Regions from separate parts of the Homo sapiens genome. Here all the other regions are linked to region 4. Evidence: promoter capture Hi-C in human tissues and cell types (Jung and others, 2019). All regions are on one chromosome and are shown on one strand. The core of a region is centred on a gene start or on the middle of the fragment in contact, and the rest is flanking DNA. Distances in the headings are between cores, read along the strand shown.

Region 1 (3,111 bases), core at 595-3,094, 200 kb before region 4:
CAAATTCCAGGTTGGGAGTTGGGGTCCCAGAGCAGACAAAAGTTGAACTAGGCAGGAGTTGAACTAGGGACAGACTAAAAGTGACATAGGTGGGGCACGGTGGCTCATGCCTGTAATCCCAACAATTTGGGAGGCCAAGGTGGGCGGATCAGTTGATCCCAGAAGTTCAAGACTAGCTAGGGCAACATGGCGAAATCTTGTCTGTACCAAAAAAAAAAAAAAAAAAAGAAAAAGAAAAATTAGCCTGGCATGGTGGCCTGCACTTGTTGTCCCAGCTACGTGGGAGGCTGAGATCAGAAGATCACTTGAACCCAAGAGGTCGAGGCTGCAGTGAGCTGTGATAGCACCACGGCAGTCCAGCCTGGGTGACAGGGTGAGATGCTATCTCAAAAAAAAAAAAAAAAAGTTTTACTTTTGTTTGTTGAACTGAAAGATGTCCAGACAGCAAAGGAACAGGCAAAGGTTCCAAAGCAGGACTGCAGCAGGTCCTGGAAAAACAGCTGTGAACTGGGAATGCCCAGTGTATCTAGGCCTGTGGGCACATTAGCCAGGCCGGCACAGGGACAGAAGATTGGAAACTGTCTGGAAAGTCCAAGGAACCAAGCCAGGACAGGGCACTGATAGCACCAACTAACCTTAACCCTCACCCTGACCCCCTCCCTCACCCTAACCCTCACCCTAATCCTAATCCTTACCCTCACCCTCACTCTAACCCTCACCCTAATCCTAACCCTCACCCTCACCCTAACCCTCACCCTAACCCTAACCCCAATCCTAACCCTAACCCTATCCCCTCACCCTAACCCTGACCCTCACCCTCACCCTAACCCTGACCCTCACCCTCACAGTGTGCATATCCTCCGGCTCAAAGGTCTCCCTCTTCAACCGCCTGCGCTCTCAGACGGTCTCCACACGCTACCTCTCTGTGGAGGATGGGGCCTTTGTGGCCAGTGCACGACAGTGGGCTGCCTTCACGCTCCACCTGGGTAATGACATCTGCAGGCCCTGGAGCTGGGCACTTCACATGCATTAGCTTATTTAACCTCCACCACAACTCCTTAAGGAAGGTAAACTCTGCCCCATGTGATTAAGGCTCAGAAACACAAAAAGACTTGACTACAGTCCCAGTGAGCTGGTGACTGTTCCAAGCTATTCTGACTCCCTTATCCATGCCCTTTCCCCATATATCAACTAAGCTGCCTGCCCCCAACCCCTGCCCCCAGGGCAGACATTTGTGAGGATGGCCTCAAATGGCCTCTCCAGAATTAGAACCTTCAGTTGGCTCCCCTGAGTACCAAGCTTTCCCGCAGGGCCCATGTGTGATGTGAGGAAGAGCCAGAGGCAACAAGGCAGGGTTTAAGGCAGAAGCTTGGGGGCCGCTGAAAACCTTGTCCCTTGCTTTTTTTGTCCCCCAGCTGATGGGCACTCTGCCCAAGGAGACTTCCCACCGCGAGAGGGCTACGTTCGCTATGGCTCCCTGGTGCAGCTCGTCTGCACGGTCACCGGCATCACACTACCTCCCATGGTATAGGAAGGGAGGGCATGCCTGGAGGGGTCCCCTCAGATCCATGCAGAGAATGTGGCACACACGGGCAGGGCTGGAGAGTGAGGCCCCAAGGCATGGAGACACCTGTTCTCACCCAGTGTCGCGTAGGACCAGACAGAAGTCAAAGGGCAGGGGGAATCTGCTAGTGCCTGTGTGGCTATTGGAGTAGCAGACAGCCGGCTAGGAGGGCAGCCTCTGGACGCCCGGGCTCCTTGCCACCACTGTTCTTACCATCCTTCCATTGCAGATCATCCGTAAAGTAGCAAAACAGTGTGCGCTCCTTGATGTGGATGAGCCCATCTCCCAGCTGCACAAGTGTGCATTCCAGTTTCCAGGCAGTCCCCCAGGAGGGGGTGGCACCTACTTATGCCTTGCCACAGAGAAGGTGGTGCAATTTCAGGTAAGAAGCAGAGAATACCAGCACCAAGTGTCCTGGAAAGGGAGAATGCAGAGAACCACAGAATGTAAGATCATCACCCTCACCATGGTTGCTACTTCCTGAGCAGCCTCCCATGGAACATTAAAATCATAGACTCCCAGGACAGAATCATAGGATGTAGAAAAATAGTAATAAGTAATAGTATGAAGCAATATTCCTTCCCAAAGAATTTTAGAGTCATAAAATATTGGGATATAGCCAGGTGCGGTGGCTCATGCCTGTAATCCCAGCACTTTGCGAGGCTGAGGTGGGCAGAACACCTGAGGTCAGGAGTTCGAGACTAGACTGGCCAACATGGTGAAATCCCATCTCTACTAAAAATACAAAAATTAGCTGGGCATGGCAGTGGGCGCCTGTAATCTCAGCTACTCAGGAGGCTGAGGCAGGAGAATTGCTTGAACCTGAGAGGTGGAGGTTGCAGTGAGCCAGGATCACACCATTGCACTCCAGCCTGGGTGACAAGAGCAAGACTCCATCTCAAAAAAAGTAAGTAAATAAATTGGGATATAAAATTGTAGGATGTAAATAAAAATCATGATAGGTAATAGAGAGCAGAGAATTAATGAGCAAAGACTATTCGAAGCACAGATAAAGACACAGAATGTGGAAAATTATAGAATGTGGAAAATAATAATTATCGTTAAGCAGTAGTACTCCCAAAAGAATATTATCATAGAATGTTACGAGATAGAATTATAATATGTGGAAAATAGCAAGTATTATTCCTTCCCCAAGAATATTCCTTCCCAAAGAATATTAAAATTGTAGATTATTAGAGCATAGAATTGCACAATGTTAAAAAAAAAAAAATTCTGGAATCCCAAGAAAAAAGACCCTTAGAAATCAGCTATCCCAGGCCGGGCCAATGGCTCATGCCTGTAGTCACAATACTTTGGGAGGCTGAGGCAGGAGGATCACGAGGCCAGGAGTTTGAGACCAGCCTGGCCAACATGGTGAAACCCTGTCTCTACTAAAAATACAAAAAAATTATTTGGGCGTGGTGGCTGGCACCTGTAATCCCAGCTACCCGGGCGCCTGAGGCAGGAGAATCATTTGAACCCGGGAGGCGGAGGTTGCAATGAGCCAAGATCAGGCCATTGCACTCCAGCCTGGGCGACAGAGCGAG
Region 2 (3,062 bases), core at 33-2,532, 160 kb after region 4:
TTGGGCCTTCCCATAAATTTTGTCCCCTACAATACTCTGGCCCCCCCACCAGTCTCTTCAATATGGCATCCCCACTGATCAAAGCACTGAACAATCACCAAGATCCACATGCCAGTTGCTGCAATCAGTGACCTACTCTTTGTCCCCAATTCACCCCAGGTTTTTCAGCCCTCTTGGTTCTCTAGTGGGATGAAACTGGAGTGGACTTACCATTAAGATTCCTAGACAAGTGGGAAGATCAAATATCCACCTCCAATTCCTTCTTCTCATCTCAGCAACTGTGGGTCTAGGGAAGTTCTCTGTGAGTGGTATTATTATGGCCTGGGAGAGAGGGTGGAACAGGCTGAAATGACCATTTCTCTTACCTGTCACTGCTTCTCTCAATTCTATGAGCCCAGGGGGTTTCTCTGCTTCTCAAGTTCTGGTGTATTCAGGGTGGCATTCTTGTCTTTGAATAGTTTTTCATTTTATTTTTGTGTCAGGAAGTGATCCCAGGAGATCTATTCTGCCATCTTGCTGACATCACTTCCCAGTTTAGTCCTGAGGTATCAGGGATGGATTAAGAAGCACATGGCTTTCCCCATCCTGGGAAAATTCTCCAGGACAGGGCAAACCAGCTCTTGCACCAGAGACATATCCACAGAGTAGCCTTTCTTGTATTGTCACTCTCTGCAGCTCATATCCTTGTGCTGGGCTGTGAGGCAGGCACTAAGGACACTCTTTAGGTAACAGTGGAACGCAGAACAAAGAGAAGTCAAGCTAGCCTCAGAGAAGAGAAAATTTGTCTTAAGTTTTTGATATCACAATCTGCATCTTTTTATAATTTGTATCCCTTGACAAATTATTGTAGGTTTCATTGTTTTTAATAGCTTTGCCTTTTAATGTTATTAAAGATATAATTTATTTACCCACTGACATTACAGTATCAGAGTATTTTGGATTTCACAATGTATTTACTTTTATCAGTGAATGTTATACTTTCATATGTTTTCCAGTCACTAATTAGTGTCCTCTTCTTCAGCTTGAAGAACTCTCTTTAGCACTTCTTGTAAGGCAAGTCTAGTAGTAATAAACTCTCTCAGCTTCTGTTTGTCTGAGAAAGTCTTTATCACCCCTTCATTTTTGAAAGAAAAGATTTCTGGGTATAGTATTCTTGGTTGACAGGGTTGTTTTATTCAGGATTTTTAATATAACATCCCACCCCCTTCTGGCCTACAAAGTTTCTGCTGAGAAATCTGCTGATAATCTAAGGGAGGGTTCTCTTGTGTGTAGCAATTCACTATTTCCTCACTGTTTTTAAAACTTTCTCTGTCTTTTTGCATGTATGGCAGGGGGAGGGTGGTGAGTATTCTGGTTTCTTCCATCCTATGGTGAAGGTGAATGCCAGTATTTATCTCTCCCTCTCTCTGCACTAAGCTGGAGAGATAATCTGTGACAAATGCCTATACTTGTGTCCAAACTGCACCCTCTGATCCTGGTGAGATAGCTGCTTGATATGGTTAGAATCTGTGTCCCCATCCAAATCTCATGTCAAGTTGTAATCCCCAATGTTGGCGGTGGACCTGGTGAGAGGTGATTGGATCACGGGGGTAAATCCTTCATGAATGGTTTAACATCATCTCTTTGGTGCTGTTCTCATGATAGTGAGTGAGATGTGGTTGTTTAAAAGTATATAGTACATCCCTCACCCCGCTCCTCCTCCAGCCATGTGAAGATGCCTGCTCTGGCTTTGTCTTCTGCCATGAGTAAAAGCTCCTGAGGCCTCCTCAGAAGCAGATAGTGCCATGCTTCCTGTATAGCCCATAGAACCATGAGCCAATTAAACCTCTTTTCTTTATAAATTATGCAATCTTGAGTATTTATTTATAGCAATGAGAGAATGGACTAATACATGCTGAAAGTGGGCCCGTTGTATGCCCATGTCTTTGTTTTCTGTAGTCCCAGGCCGCTTAGGAATGCAAAGTCTCATTGGGAATGCAAAGCCCCATTAGTCCCCAGAGCTAGGTTGATAAGGAGACAGTCCCTTGGGTGGAAACTATAGAAGCTTAGGTACTCAGTACACGGACAAACTCCTTCCAGGAAGAATGGGTCGACTGGATTTATCACTGGGATGAGCCAAAGGAAAGGCTCAGAAAGTGCTCAGCTCAAGCTCAGGATGACAGGGAGCTACTTTCTCCCCTTAGGTCCTCAATGCAAATTCATTAAAAGCAAGGTCATCAAGTAGCCACCAATAGAGTAAGCAGGAAACCCCTTGCAAAGAGAAAATGGGAGCTCAGCATTCTAGTCCCTTTTCTACACTGCTCCCAGGAGATGTAGACCCTGGCAGTGTTATTATGTCCATTTAAAACCACCTTTTTGGCTGGGTGCAATGGCTCAGCCTGTAATCCCAGTACTTTGGGAGGCTGAAGTGGGTGGGTCACTTGAGGTCAGGAGTTCAAGACCAGCCTGGCCAACATGGTGAAACGCTGTCTCCACTAAAAATACAGAACATTAGCCAGATGTGGTGGTGCATGCCTGTAGTCCCAGCTACTTGGGAGGCTGAGACAGGAGAACCGCTTGAACCCGGGAGGTGGAGGTTGCAGTGAGCCAAGATTATGCCATTGCACTCCAGTCTGGGTGGCAGAGTGAGACTCTGTTTAAAAAACAAACAAACAAACAAAAAAACCTTTTTGTATGTGATCTGGGAAGACTTGAGTATGCATAGTTTCAGGTGGTAGCTGCTGTAAAAGTTGGGCCACTCAATGCATGGCATAAACCCCTTACAGGGAGTAACAGGGAGCTGCATTTTTAAGCCCCTTTTCTGTACCACTCCAAGAGTTTGAAACCCCCAGAAATACGTGTGCACCTGTATAAACCTACCACTCTTGTCTGTTGTCTAGAGAGATTCTCATATGCATAGTCCTCTCTGCTCCTAAAGCTGGGAGTTTTAGAGTGCAGTCCTTCCAGTAGAAGCTGCAAAAGTTGAGGCATTCTACATGTGGACAAACTCTCTCCAGGAAGGAGTAATAGACCTGGAGTTATCACTGGAGTGAGCCAGGGGAAAAGGCTTAGGAAGTGTTGAT
Region 3 (3,087 bases), core at 278-2,777, 210 kb after region 4:
CTGCACATCCTGCACATGTACCGCTGAAATTAAAATAAAAGTTGAAGATTTTTTTAAAAGATAGCATTTACAATAATATTAAAAATATAAATAAGATTGTAACACCTGCATGAGAAATGTCATAAACCTTTCTTTAAAATATTAATGAAGGTCAAAATAGATGGAAATATATATATCAAAGACAATATTATAAGGATATCATTCTTTTCCAATTGATTTGTAGATCCAGTGCAATTCAAATGAATATCCAAAATAGGTGTTTTGTTTTTGTTTTTGTTTTTGTTTTCGTTTTCGGTCAGAGTCTTGCTCTGTCACCCAGGCTGGAGTGCAATGGCACAGTCTCAGCTCACTACAACCTCTGCCTCCCAGTTCAAGCAATTCTCATGCCGCAGCCTCCCAAGTAGCTGAGATTACAGGAACTCACCACCATAACCAGCTAATTTTTGTATTTTTAGTAGAGACGGGGTTTTGCCATGTTGACCAGGCTGGTCTCCAACTCCTGACCTCATGGGATTCACCCACCTCAGCCTCCCAAAGTGCTGGGATTACAGGCATGAGCCACCACGCCTGGCCCGAAACAGGTCTTTTGAATAACTTGATAAACTGACTAAAATTTATATGAAAATACAAAATCCTAAGATAAACAAAGTTCAAGAGATTAAGTGTGGCTTTGGAGTGGGGGTATACAGTGGAGTGAAATAAAGGGCTCAGAAGCAATCCCACATAATTAAGCAAAATTATTTTGCAGTTAAATAGAAGAGGAACTCATTAATAAATAGGTCTGGAACCACTGAAAAATGAAAAAGGATCCTTATGTTATACCTTACCAAAAAATCAACATCAGGTGGTTTTAGGGTGTAAAGGTAAGCCAAAACTTCAAAACTTTTAGGAGAAAACAGATCCAAGATGTCCTCATGTTCCTAGATAACATAGTGTAGTGTGACTAAGAACAAAAACTCTGAAGCCAAGTTCAAATCTTGTCTCTACCACATAATAAATGAGTGACCTTGTACATGTAACCTAATCTCTGTCTCCATTTCATCCTTAAATGATGGTAATAACTGTACTTACTTCATAGGGTGTATATGATGATAAAGTATATACAAATTACTTAAAAATAGCACCTGGAATTAAGTAGTACTCTAGGTTATAACTAACCCTGTTACTATTATTATAGTGCTATTGCACTCTTTCTCTTGTGCCATGATTAGTTTCTTCTGTGCATAAAAGGTCAAAAAGAGAAAGGAAGAAATCCCTTTTTAATTCCTCACTCTGATGATTCTACCCTTCATGATTAAATATATGCAGAAGCTCTGATCCTTAAGTTTCTATTGCTTCTAGATGAACATGGGACTCACTATCAAGGGTCTAATCAGTTTGGGGCCTTCAGCTTCATGGCTGGGTACCCAAGCACTCACTGTTCAACTCAACACCTAGTAATGTCCAGTCCTGGCCCTTGGGGTAGGTGAGCTCAACCGTCTCAAGTATCAAGCCCAAAATATAACATCAGGTGATACCACAACTATCCTGCCTGCTGCTTGCTGCACCATGAAGTCTGCCAAGCTGGGATTTCTTCTAAGATTCTTCATCTTCTGCTCATTGAATACCCTGTTATTGGGTGGTGTTAATAAAATTGCGGAGAAGATATGTGGAGACCTCAAAGGTATGAAGCTAAGGCAGAAAATAAATCCAAAGGTCAATTATGAATGAGAGAGAAGGTATTGGGAGAAAAGTGTGTTATCTAGGTAGTCCAGGAAGGTCTTCCTTTCATGACAATACCCATAGACACTTAGTCCCTTGACTCAGGGCATTACTTACACTAGGGGTCCTCTGGATGTTTGATGAGAAAAAACAGAAATGACACAAAGTCCTTTCCAGATGGAGACCTCTTTTATAGGAGGTCCAAAGGACTGGAAGTATTTTGAATCAGAGGTTGTGTGACAAATTTCAAAGATCCCAGACCATTGATGATTATGTATTGGGATGAGAGAGAAAGGGGGTTGGAGACAGAGCAAATTAAGACATTTTCAGTATCTGGGCTATGGACATATACAGAACTCTTGGACAGATGATTCCTGTTTAGAGGAGCTCACAATGTAAATGTGAGAGGCAATGAGACTTTCTTCCATAGATAGTGTGTGAAGGCTCAGCGCTTCCAGGGGACGAGAAAGTAGCACAGTTTATACCGTAAGTCAGACACTTCAAGTTCTGGACCTGTTCACTTAGCAGATATGTGCCCTTGGACAAGTCACTCAACCACTTATTATTCTCTTAGTCTCAGTTTCCCCATGTGTAAAATGAAGATCAGAAAAGTGCCTGCTGCAGAGGGTGTTTGTGAGTATGAAATAAGATTATGCACATAACTTTACCAGAGAGTAAATTCCAGGCTGGCTGCTTGAGTAAGGTGGATTGTCAATACAACCATGATTGTGGCTGTTCCAACCACTTACTACCCAACTCTTAACAATAAAAACAGAGGGTTTGCCTCTGAGAAGGCAAGAAAGGAGAAGATGACGGGGTATGAGGATGAACGAGCATCACCCCAAGGTTATGCATTTTAGCATTTTAGTATGCATCCTGCTTTAAAGATAGCAGCAGCCATGGTTACTTAAATTTTGAAGTATAGGTAGTATAGTGAATGTATGAAACTGGGGAGGAGGCACTCTGAATTGCATGTCCTATGTGGGCAATTAAAAGGAAAGGAAGATGATGTGGGGAAGCAGGAGGATACTGTACTTTAATAAACTGTAAGATAGGAAATGTAGGGAAGCTCATCGCCCTGCACAAGCTAGTGGTGGAACCTCCTTTTTCACTGATCACTACTTCTCCTTCTCCAATACACTGCTCACGACAACAACCTGGAATTTTAACCAATTTGCATTGTGCAAGGGCAACATTTCCAAGCAACTCTAACTCCAAGAGAAAACCACATCTTTCAGAGTCCTTGAATATGAGAATAGTTCCAGGCTAAACGTAGGAATTTTTAAGGGCCCATAAAGACAAGTTCTCCTGCTGAGTCCTTACCAATTCCCACTAACTCAATGGGAACCTCTCATGCAGATCCCTGCAAATTGGACATGAATTTTG
Region 4 (2,840 bases), core at 10-2,509:
GACATACATCAGACTATTTGATTAATAAAGCAGAAAAGATGGTTAATCTTTTTTTATAGAAGAAGAAACTGATGCTCAGAGAGGCTATAAATGATGTTCCTGAGGCACAGAGTTTGTAAGTAGAGGAGCCTGGACCAGAACCCAGGTGTGTCTGACTCCAGGAATGCTCATACTGTAAACCACTACATTCTTCTTACTTATGGCAGACATTTTCAAACTTGAGTATGCGTCAGAATCATCTAGAAGGCTTGTTAGAGAGACCCACCTCCACAGTTTCTGATCAGGTGGGACTGGGAACTAGCATGTTTCCAGTTGATACTGCTGCTGCTATTGCTGTCAGACTAGGGGACAAACTCGAGAACCACTCATCTATAAGGTTATTGGGAGGTTTAGAGTTCCATTTATGTCTAAGAATCTATCATTAATAGCTCCATGTACATACATGCAGAGAACTATGCTTGCACATGCAAGAATGTTCACTGGCACATTGACAGTGATAATCTCCAGAGGGTAAGATTTTGATAATTTTTCACCTTCTTTCTTACCCTTTTGTGTATTCTAATATGCATTTTTATACAGGGCATCCTACTGGCTGCTTAAAAATCTTGGAAACTGCTGCCTACCATCCCCATTTCCAGCAGATTATCTTAGCTATAACTGCACTTCATCTCCCCACTTCCATTTGCAGATTCCAAGCTTCCACAGAGAAAGTGGTCCAGGAAGGAGCCTTTTCTGACAAGTGCATCTAACTTGGCTAAGTCCCTCACTCTCAAATTCTGGCTCTGATCTCCTTTTCCCAACCTCTCCTTGCCTGCCACCAGCCCCACCCCAGACATTGAAGGCCCCTTTTCCTGCTTTACTTATTTCATTTTCTATAGCACTTTGATCATCTATCATTTGTATTAGGTATTGTATGTCTCTCTCCCATTAGCATCTTAATTTCACAAAGGCAGGGTCTCAGGCTCTTTGCTTTAACCTCAGCACCTAGGACAGTGCCTGGCACATAACTATGTGCCCAACATATGTCTGATGAAGTGAATTGAACTGAATTGACTCTCAATCCGGTAAGGTAAGAAATGGGCTCTGTTTGTGCTGCATCACCTCCCCCACCACCCCGCCCCCCAGCCTGATTCCCAGTCTATTCTTTGAGATCCCACATTTCATACCAACCTCGTGCTAGTTCTGATCGAAGCTCTAGGCAGAGAGTGAGAATCAGGAGAAACGAGAGAGAGGCCTGAAGCTGCATGGTGCCACTCAGCCAGTGGCTCAGCCTGGGGTTGCCATTTTAGGGAGAAAAGGGACCAAGGGGAGGAGCCTGGCCCCACATCCAGCTCATTCACCTTTAACTCAGGCTTTTCATGGGGCTGGGCTGCCTCAGGAACAGAGTGTTCAGCCAAAGCACAGCTTCACCTCTCTCCTCCTGGCCTTATCTGATCTGGCCACCCAGGCTACTTTAGTACCACTTCAGGGTGGAAGCCTTTTTCACAATAATAAAAAGACAGCAGCCATTTTTGAGTACCTTTCCTTTTCCAGGCACCATGCAAAATAGTTTTCACACATTGCTTCCCTTAAGTCTACACGGGAATCCCACAACACTAACACTCCCATTTTGTAGATGAGAGGAGGTTATGCTACTTTGACCATTGTTACATGGACAGCAAGTTTCAGAGACAAGACTGAGACCCCGGTCTGTCTGCTTCAGTGCCCTCGTATCACTCATTCATTCAACAAACATTCATCAAGTACCCACACTGCACCAGGCAAAGTATTAGATGCTGCCTCCATCCCATCTGGGTGCTCCCAGGAAATTATGGCAACAACACACACAAACACATTGGAAGTCAGAAACAGTCACCTACTTGGAGGAGGAGCAGATTCATTATATTTTAATAGAAATATCAAAAGCACCATGTAGAAGGAGGGCCCAGCTTTGTTTGCTTCAGAGGGTCATGGTCTCTAGAGACACACCCCCAGAATCCAGCACATTCCAACTGTCTCCTTTCCTTGACTCTCTAGAGATCCATTTTTTTTGAAAGACAAAGCCAGCATGCTTTAGGGAGATTTAGTGAGCCTCAGATTTAAAATTTGAGGTTGTGATGGGTCCAGCTATTCTTTTTCAAGAAGCATTCTATCATATATTTATTATTATTTATTTTTAATTGAGAAATAAAAATTGTATAAAGGCAGTCCCCAATTTACAATGGTTTGACTTACAGTGTTTGACTTTATGATGGTGCAAACACAATGCACAGTCAGTAAAAACAGTACTTGGAATACCCATACAACCATTCTGTGTTCACTTTTAGAACAGTATTCAATAAATTACATTAGATATTCAACACTTCATTATAAAAGGGGCTTTGTGTTAGATGATTTTGCCCAACTGTAGACTAGTATAAGTGTTCTGAGCAAGTTTAAGGTAGGTAAGGCTAAGCTATGATGTTTGGTAGGTTAGGTGTATTAAATGCATTTCAACTTCTGATATCTTCAACTTAGGCTAGGTTTATTAGGCTATAATCTCATCATAAGTTGAGAAACATTATATATTTATGAGGTACAATATGATGTTTTGAAATATATGTGTGTATATATATATAGAGAGAGAGAGAAATTTTCTCTCTTAGCAATTTTCAAGTGTACAATATGTTATTAACTACGGTCACCATGCTGTGCAATAGGTCTTTACAACTTATTCCGTCTGTCTAACTGAAATTTTGTACCCTTTGACCAGCACCTTCCCAATACTTCCCACCCCCAGCCCCGGGTATCCACCATTCTACTCTCTGCTTCTGTGACTTCAACTTTTTTAGATTCCACATGTAAGTGAGATCACCTGGTAT

The links. Contacts are between HindIII fragments. The study calls those that stand out against the background at their distance.
Region 1: a fragment that was not itself captured here is called in contact with the fragment with the promoter of SPINT3 in region 4 in 4 of the 25 tissues and cell types used here (bladder, heart left ventricle, mesendoderm cells and 1 more).
Region 2: a fragment that was not itself captured here is called in contact with the fragment with the promoter of SPINT3 in region 4 in 7 of the 25 tissues and cell types used here (adrenal gland, dorsolateral prefrontal cortex, mesenchymal stem cells and 4 more).
Region 3: the fragment with the promoter of SPINT4 here is called in contact with the fragment with the promoter of SPINT3 in region 4 in 2 of the 25 tissues and cell types used here (bladder and stomach).

What each region holds. Positions count from the first base shown.
Region 1 is chr20:45,312,620-45,315,730 of GRCh38, forward strand. It overlaps RBPJL (recombination signal binding protein for immunoglobulin kappa J region like), which reads left to right. Exons shown (of 12, transcript NM_014276.4): 7 at 849-986; 8 at 1,416-1,525; 9 at 1,794-1,946. Among named protein-coding and RNA genes, the nearest start is that of MATN4, 5.9 kb to the left of the region's middle. The HindIII fragment of the contact is 3,231 bases long and covers 230-3,111 here.
Region 2 is chr20:45,678,672-45,681,733 of GRCh38, forward strand. No RefSeq gene overlaps it. Among named protein-coding and RNA genes, the nearest start is that of WFDC11, 10 kb to the left of the region's middle. The HindIII fragment of the contact is 5,827 bases long and covers 1-3,062 here.
Region 3 is chr20:45,720,820-45,723,906 of GRCh38, forward strand. It overlaps SPINT4 (serine peptidase inhibitor, Kunitz type 4), which reads left to right and starts at 1,528. Exons shown (of 3, transcript NM_178455.3): 1 at 1,528-1,663; 2 at 3,061-3,087. The coding sequence starts at 1,549. The HindIII fragment of the contact is 7,531 bases long and covers 1-3,087 here.
Region 4 is chr20:45,514,363-45,517,202 of GRCh38, forward strand. SPINT3 (serine peptidase inhibitor, Kunitz type 3) reads right to left here and starts at 1,260. Exons shown (of 2, transcript NM_006652.2): 1 at 1,171-1,260. The coding sequence starts at 1,246. All of the region lies in intron 1 of LOC107987282 (a long non-coding RNA gene), which reads left to right. The HindIII fragment of the contact is 13,872 bases long and covers 1-2,840 here.